3 separate regions of the Homo sapiens genome follow, and regions 1 and 3 are each linked to region 2. The links are contacts of gene promoters, found by promoter capture Hi-C in blood cells and fetal thymus (Javierre and others, 2016). All regions are on one chromosome and are shown on one strand. Each heading gives the region's core, a stretch centred on a gene start or on the middle of the fragment in contact. The rest is flanking DNA. Distances are from core to core; before and after follow the strand shown.

Region 1 (2,700 bases), core at 14-2,513, 600 kb after region 2:
TAATACCTTCTTCTCTCTCAATTTTATGGTGGCTATCTTAAGGCTATTAGGCTTGAATTAAAAGATCATATCCTTAATTTGATCTTTGCAATGAATCACTTTATTAATTCAGAATGTTTGCCATATCATAAATTAAAGAATTGATGTGTGTCTTAATATAGATTTTGGAAGAGACAATGAGGCTAGTGAGAGAAAAGTTGAAATCATCTACATCCCTAGTTCTCAATGCCCTGCAGGGGAGATTTTCAATGTCTGGATACAATTTTTATTTTCAAAAATGGGGTGGAGTGGGGGATGGGTGGTGCTAGTGCTACTGGCATTTAGTGTACGAACGCCAGGGATATTGATAAACATTCTACAATGAACAGGGCAGCCCCACACAGCAAAGAATCATCTGGCTGTTCCAGATAACACACACAGACTTCTTCAAGAACCACTTAAGCTCTAATACGCCAGCATTTTCCAACAATATTAAGAAAGGTTGACAGTGCTTTTCACCTTTTTCAGATTTCATTGTAATACCCACGATTGAGATGGTTGGAGATAAAGCCATTATCCAGTGATAGTTCATCATGTTGAAGGAATCCTGCTGTATGTATTTTATATATTTTGATATGGATATGTGATATGCACCCTTAATACAATTCTAGTCTATAACAGCTACCTAACAATATTTCAGAATGAGCTTTTTCTAGTATTCTGTGCCATTAAAGAGTGGCCCCTTTGTACATTAATGAAAGCTTGTCCTTTAGAATGAATAGGAAGTCTAAGAATTTGGCTAAATACCATCTTTCTGGAAGAGGAAAAAATTAATGGCAAAATATTAGAAATATAATTGATCAAATGCAATACTCATTGTAGTCAAGAGTAAGTAATGCAAAAATCTGTAATTCTCATGAAAAACAATATTAAAATTGTGTTCCCGGGAAGTTAGTAACATTTTGACATTTTTTCTCTATTCTTTAAATGGTTCAGAGCAACTATTTATTAATTAGCATTTTCTTTAAGAAAAACTAATATCGTTGTGGAGGATTAACTTCACTTTGGAGTGTACTACTCCCTTAAAAGGACCATTAAAAGGCTATAAAATTAATTGTTTTCTACTAATAAGTTATTATTTAGAATCACTTAGTTTCATCTACCAGAAAAAAATGCTTTTTGAGTTAGAGGTTTTATATTATCTCAGTCTTCTCATCCATGATCAATACTTACTCCATTTTTGTTATTATATCTGTTTCCTTCTGGTTCTCATCTTAGCTCAAAAGAAAAAGGATGATTGAACAAAATACCTTTTGAGTAGTCTCTCTGCTCCTCAAAGCACATGTCTTCATAATTATCTCAAATTTGCATATTTATTGTTAAATAAATATAAGGGGAATTTATTGCAGTATGCTGCATTCTTTGCACTCTCTGTGTCTTGTTTGCATCTTGCCTGTTTTGATCGTTTTAGATTAGAGGCACATGAATTATCATTTATTTTAAGTGCTATATTATAGTCATTTTTGCAGAGAAAGAAAGCAGTCAAAAAACAGATTGTCCAACTTCTTATAAATGAGAATGTCACAAATAAAATGCCAGTTTGTTCACCTTGTCCTTTGCACTAACGTCAAGCCATTCTCTTCGATGCCTTTTTTGTAATTATGAGTAATAGCCCAAATATTTTACAGCAGAGAGATGAGTCACAAAGCGGAAGAACTATAAATACTTTTGTTCTCGAGAAACAATGAAGCTGTATATTCTTTCACATTCACCCACCACATATGTGTTTTATTTAAGGTTAAGCTTTTTTAAAAACAACTTTCTCCTGCTTTAAGAGTTCCAATCTCCAGTACAAGTTTTGTTTTCCAGTAAACTGTTTCATTGTATTTGATGCTTCATAAATGTATCTAAATCTAGCTCATCATGCACTGCTAGCTACACCTAATCATACACACATGTCTGAATTACTCCACTCCTATTTAAAGGAAAAGAACAAAAAGTAAGAATGGCAGATGTGTTCATAATTAATATCCTACTGGGTTAATCAGTAGATCCTCAGGAATGCTATGAGGGTTTTGATGTATTCAGAAAATCACTGCCTTTATCTATAGACCTCTTTAAAGACAAACATACAACAGTTAGTTTTTAGAAGATGTGATCCTTGCAAATAAGATAGTAAATAATATTGTCACAGACTTGCCTCTTTGAATAACCTAATTCCATGCTTGATTTTATATGTTTAAGTGAGGAATTTATGGTTCATATTTACAGCCAGTGATATGTGCAAGGATTGCTGTTTACTAACATCACACTCAAAATTTCTTGTAGACATTTCAAGCAATTTGAAGTATAGTTCTTCTAGAAGTAACTAAATATAAACAAGATGGGCACTTTTTTTAAGGAGATTGATATTTCAGAATTGTTGATCACTCCTATACTTGTGAATGAGAGAATATAAGAGACATGGTAATTCACTGAAGGAGAAGAAGAAGAAGGAGAGCATTGCATTATTGGAAAAACTCCATCTTTATAGCGAGACAATACTGAGTTGAAAGCTCAGTCTCCCACTGTGCAACTCTAGGAATTGCTTAAGAGCTCTGGTCTTTGGTTACCTCATCTACTAATGCAGAATAATAACACTTCTGTCTTAAGGTTTAGAGTGTTAAAATAAAGCAGTACTTGGGACATTGAAAAATGCTGAATTTAAAAGTCCTGTTTCAT
Region 2 (2,700 bases), core at 108-2,607:
TTTGTCTGCTGATGAGAGAACGTCTCAGTGATAAATGGTTACAGACAGGGGTGTCATGAGGGCAACAACACACAGAACAATTCAGACAAACTTTTTAAAAAAGTCTTCTCCTGCAGTTTTTTTTTGTGGCGCTGGGAAGCACAGTGCCTATCCCTGCTAATAAAAGAAAACTATTGCAATGCAAAACTCCTAACCTTTGCAGAGGCACTTACCAGAAAACCAAAAACATACTCTTTGAAAAACAATTTAAAACCAAGCTTCAAAGGCTTTCTAATGTATAAATATTCAGACATTCTGAAAAGCACTGCTCTGCACCCTGCACCCCAGCTATTTGTGCCTAAAATGGATATTGTCGTAACAGTTAGCATGGTTGTCAAAGTGCAACGTCTCTAATATCAACACTGAGAGACATCAGACTCATTAAAATGCTTTACATTCATTAATTAGGTTGGTGCAAAAGTAGTTGCGGCTTTTGCCAAAGTCATACATAAATTCAAACACATTATGATACTCATTTAACACATTTGTGATAAAAATCATGTATGAAGTCATGAGTTTATTTAATAAGCTAATATTCCATAGAGTCCAATGGTGACTACCAATGACTCAGTTAATTTTCAAACCAAAATAAGTTAGATTACAATTTGTTGACTCCCTTGACTCCTCGAGCCAGGGAAAACATTTCCTGGGGCCTGACTCTAGGTGGCTCACTTCCCTCACCTAAAAACAGGAAGGGTGAGACAACCCCCTCCAACCCTCGTCCTCGGTCCCCCAAGGATTTCTCTCCAGAATTCTGCCTCTTCTGCAGCAGTCTGGAGTCTTCAGCATGAAAAGGGTAACAAACATGGCGCAATTTTCTGAAACCGTGATGTCAACAGTGTTTTTGAGGTGTCCTTTCCCACCCTAAAGAAAATTCGAGATGCACAGCAAGAAAAAAATGCAAGACAGCTCCCCGACACATCCTGAGCCACGCCTCGTCCTCAGGGTGCACCCGACAGTCTCTGCCAGCGCAGTGTGGACGCTGGACAAAGACGCAGCCAGTAGGTCGCTGGTGGTCGCGGGTTGGATCCGCTGACTTGGCCACCAAATCTTTTCCTCGGGGAGTGAAGCGGCACGGAAGGAGCGGAGTCAAGGGCGGGGCTGGGGATTGGACCCGCCCCCGGGCCCGGGGATTGGACCCGCCCCCGGGCCCCGGAGGAGTCCCTGCGCCTGCGTGCCGGGCGTGGACCTGTGGTTGGACTCCCCCGTTTTGGGCTGCCCTCCGCGTCCTCCCCCGCCCCTTCCCACCTCCGCCCACTTGACGCGATGACGCATCTCAGGTTTGCGGACGTGGCGGCGGCGTACGGCCCGGAAGGCGGAGACGTTGGCGGCAGAGGCGGAGGCGGACGGGGTCAGCCCAAAGCAGAGGCTCGGCCATGAACTTACCCGGGACAGCGGCGGCGGCGGACCTTTTGGCCATCTTCTCGCAGAGTGCTCCCTGCTAACGGGGACAGGTAAAGATGGTGGCAGGAGGTGAGGGTAGCCCGGTCCAGGAGGGCGGGGTTGAGCCCCAGCTGCGTCCTCACGGGAGGCGCTGAGCCTCGGCCACAGGTGTGGTGGGGGCTGCAGGGCCGGGCTCGGCCCGTGTGGCGGACACCCCCGAGACAGGGAAGAACTTCCAGACCAGCCCTGCCAGGCCCTCTTGTCACACTGTCGGGGAAACTGAGGCTCAGAGGAAGGACGCCTACCTGCTGGATTACCTGGGCAGCTAATTTCCCACCCAAACACAGCATTTCTCCCACGACTTTATGTTGGCGTGAAATATTCGCTGACGGCATCTTGTCACATCGTTCAAGTGTCATGCTGTGACAGAAGACTCTGAGACGTAATCTTCGCTGACGATAGCAGGGAAAGAAAAACTTGACGTGTGGAATACAGAGGGAGGAGGTAGTTAAGTTTTAAAAAACAAAATTGTCCCTGGCAGCGGATAGGGTGCCTTTGATTCTGTCCCTTTGCAGCTTTAACTTGTGCCCTGTGACCCTCTTATTGCACCTTGCTTAGTTAAAGAAGGTCAAGGCGAAACACCCAGCAGCCATTCTACAGTACGAAGGTGTTTGGGAAACCGTTTTCAGTTACAGACTGAGCTGAAGAATGCTTTAACACTGTTTTGTGGCCCCTCGTAATCTAGGTAGCACGCAGGCTTGTTCCAAGTTTCTGAAAGGGAGTTCGTGCCTTTTTCCTGCTCTAAGAGAATTAAGAGAGGTGAATAGAATTGAGCCAGATGACTTAAATATTATGTATTTTCTAATCTCTGAGTAGTAGACTGGAGTGATCGCCTGGGTCAGTCTGTTCACTTCGGTTGAAGACACAGCCAGTTCTTGATCATTCAGAATACCCAGATTTGTAACACGATAGTCAGCTGCCTGCATTTCATTATAAAGGGGAGTGGAGAGATAGTGAGACAGGTGAAGTTCTGACCTTTAAATTATATTTAGAAATATATCGTGGAGAGAGGTTGATAGAAACAAGTATCTAAAATGGCTTTGGGGCATTGCTTAGTGATTTTCAGTTAGCTGCACTACTAAGCCAATTTTGAAGTTCTAAGTACAAATTATTAGGGTGAAACTGTCTAACAAGACACATAAGTAGGTCGGTATAGCCAAGTGTAAATTGCTGTATATTAAGTCTTAACTTTTTTGATCATGGATGCCTTTTGAGAAT
Region 3 (2,700 bases), core at 149-2,648, 780 kb before region 2:
CCATCCTTGAGGTGCTCGCTTCAATATGTCAAATGAGGACTCTCATTACATTTGGCTGTCATACATCAGCCACAACTGTCCTGCCCAGAAGAGCTGGCCTTGGCTTTAAAGCCTACATCCTGGCTGACCTTCTTTACTGCTTTATTAAGGAATCCAACTTGCTGTTTGCTATCACATGTGCTATACATGCTGTTGATGAAACTGCTAAAGGGGCTGAATGTGACTGACGTCTTTGGAAGGATGAGACTTAGCGTGCCTGTACAGTTGTGTCCAAATGCTGTCCTCATCTCCCAATGAAAAGGTATTGTAAATAAAGAGAAAGATCAGAGGCTTATTTTAAACACTAAATATGAGCTAGGAGCTGTCCTAGACACTATGTAAAAGTTTTATTTAGTTCTCACTGTAATGTTGGCCTTATGTTAGCATCCCATTTTTCAGACTGAGGAAATTATGGCTCAGAGAGGTTAAGAGACTTATTGAAGGTCACACAGCTCCACAAACTTTGGTGTAGATTGAACGTGTACATGGGTCTATGTGACTTTGAATCTTGCATTCTTTACATTATTGGAATATTTCACAGAAGGAAAATGACATATTAACATGGCAATAAGATTTCTGGTTCCAGTCTGGTTACTGGTCTTCCAAGAGTGTTATAGGATGTATAGCCTGAGCTCTGAAGCTTTGTTCTGAAGCATGCTATCAATATGAACAAATTGGTATGGAAGGAAGCCACAAATTATATACTAAAATCTAGTTCATCAGAGGAAAATATAGTTAAATACATTTACATTCCCAGAACTGTTAATATTGAAGAATAAAACACACAGTGGGAAAGAGACGAAGAGAAAATACGCCTGTTTTTATGACTTGTTGATATCTACAGGGTTTTTCCTTAAGCCTCACAACAATTTACAGCATTGCCAGCAGCATTCAGTACATTCAGAACAGGATAATTTCACCCGCAGCTGAACTAGGGCCATGCCTGGGACAGACAGAGAATGGCCTTCCAGCAGACATGCCAAGAAGCAAGCCAGGGTCAGTGAGTGAAGAGGAGGGCAGGCCCATTTGAAGCAACACAGTTTATGTAAGTGTGATCTAACTGCTTTCACTGGAAATGGGTCAGACTCCAGTTGAGAGAACCAGGGGCCTGAATGACCCCAGCAAAATCACTGTGGCAATTCTTTCAATCACCTCTGAGAATATGGCCCTGTGACGACATAATGACGTTTGGATTAATTCCAGTCGGCTGTGTTTTCCCCTCCTTTCTTGCCTCCCCGTAGTTGATTTGCCAAATTTTTTTTGTTTGCTTAAATACGCGGAACTAAACAGGATACATTATATGACAGTCTGTGATAAATTTACCACTGGGAATAGGGAAAAAGTATGGGATAAAGAAATAGGTATTTTTCGCCTCTCACAGCTGTGATTCAGTTCTGACTCAAAAGGAAGTGTGCCACCTACTGAATCACAGAAACCACTTCCTGTGGCTGTTTGGTTTATTCTGGAGGAGCATCAGGCCAAGTGCTGCCCTGCCCTGACCCTGACTGGCTCTTCAGAGCCAAGGCATTCACAGCTTGAGGTGGTTTGGCCTCAGACTCTTGAGAACATTGCATATTAAATTACAAGTGTTTCGTTTCCTAGCAAGGAGTCTTTAGCAACATGAAAACGAACGTGTGTTATTTGCAAACCAAGTATATCATTACTGAACCTGAATATCCTTACTTTTTCATAAGGTACGTATTCCGGATGACCACTCTTAAGATCTGAATGTACACTGGTTCTGTTTTTCCTGAGGGGAACTTGGGCAGTCTGCAGGGTGGCATTTACCAGCTGAGGGACTTCAAGAGCACCCTTTAATCAGTGTGGCAGCACTCAACTTGTATTCACTCACTCAGAGTATTTTTGAGCATGTACTTATTGCCATGTGCTGTGCTAGGTAGGGGTAGAGGGTACAGTGGTGAACAAGACCCCACAGCTCCTGACCTCATGGCTCATGTGTTCTACACCATAAGGGAATCAAGCTGTGTCTCCCGGGGCAGGGGCCTTCCTCTGTTCACCATGCAGCCCCAGCATCTAGCACCTGGCGTTGCATAAAGGAGGCTCTAAATCAAGCTTGTCCAACCCAAGGCCCACGGGCCACATGTGGCCCAGGATGGCTTTGAATGCAGCCAAACACAAATTTGTAAACTTTCTTAAAACATTATAAGATTTGTGTGTATGTGTTTTAGTCCATCAGCTATTGTTAGTGTTCATGTATTTTATGTGTGGCCCAAGACAATTCTTCTATGTGGCCCAAGGAAACCAAAGATTGAACACTCCTGCTCTAAATACTTGTTTGTTGAATAGATACATGAAAAGAAAGAAGGAGAGAAGGAAGAAAGGAGGGCGGAAGGAAAGGAAGAAGGGAGAGAAGAAGAGAAGAAAGAAGCAGAGAAAGGAAGAGAAAAGAAATTACGGCCAGTGCGGTGGCTCACGCCTGTAATCCTAGCACTTTGGGAGGCCTAAGCGGGCTGATCACCTGAGGTCAGGAGTTCGTAAGCCAGCCTGGCCAACATGGTGAAACCCTATCTCTACTAAAAATACAAAAATCAGCAGGGCATGGTGGTGCGTGCCTGTAATCCCAGCTACCTGGGAGGCTGAGGTAGGAGAATCGCTGGAACCCGAGAGGCGGAGGCTGCAGTGAGTTGAGATCATGTCACT

The links. The method cuts DNA at HindIII sites, captures the fragments that hold promoters and counts their contacts. A CHiCAGO score of 5 or more calls a contact.
Region 1: a contact is called between a fragment that was not itself captured here and the fragment with the promoter of LYSMD3 in region 2, in 1 of 17 cell types (endothelial precursors). The highest score is 5.5, in endothelial precursors.
Region 3: a contact is called between a fragment that was not itself captured here and the fragment with the promoter of LYSMD3 in region 2, in 5 of 17 cell types (total CD4 T cells, naive CD8 T cells, non-activated CD4 T cells and 2 more). The highest score is 9.3, in total CD4 T cells.

What each region holds. Positions count from the first base shown.
Region 1 is chr5:89,929,897-89,932,596 of GRCh38, reverse strand. The region is part of intron 2 of LOC102724637 (a long non-coding RNA gene); the gene reads right to left. Among named protein-coding and RNA genes, the nearest start is that of MIR3660, 85 kb to the left of the region's middle. The HindIII fragment of the contact is 1,042 bases long and covers 743-1,784 here.
Region 2 is chr5:90,528,241-90,530,940 of GRCh38, reverse strand. LYSMD3 (LysM domain containing 3) reads left to right here and starts at 1,357. Exons shown (of 3, transcript NM_198273.2): 1 at 1,357-1,493. RefSeq lists enhancers at 701-960, 1,586-2,086 and a silencer at 1,071-1,320. The HindIII fragment of the contact is 4,420 bases long and covers 260-2,700 here.
Region 3 is chr5:91,310,679-91,313,378 of GRCh38, reverse strand. It overlaps LUCAT1 (lung cancer associated transcript 1), which reads left to right. Exons shown (of 5, transcript NR_103548.1): 3 at 150-301. Among named protein-coding and RNA genes, the nearest start is that of LUCAT1, 2.4 kb to the left of the region's middle. RefSeq lists enhancers at 997-1,541, 904-2,103. The HindIII fragment of the contact is 1,433 bases long and covers 682-2,114 here.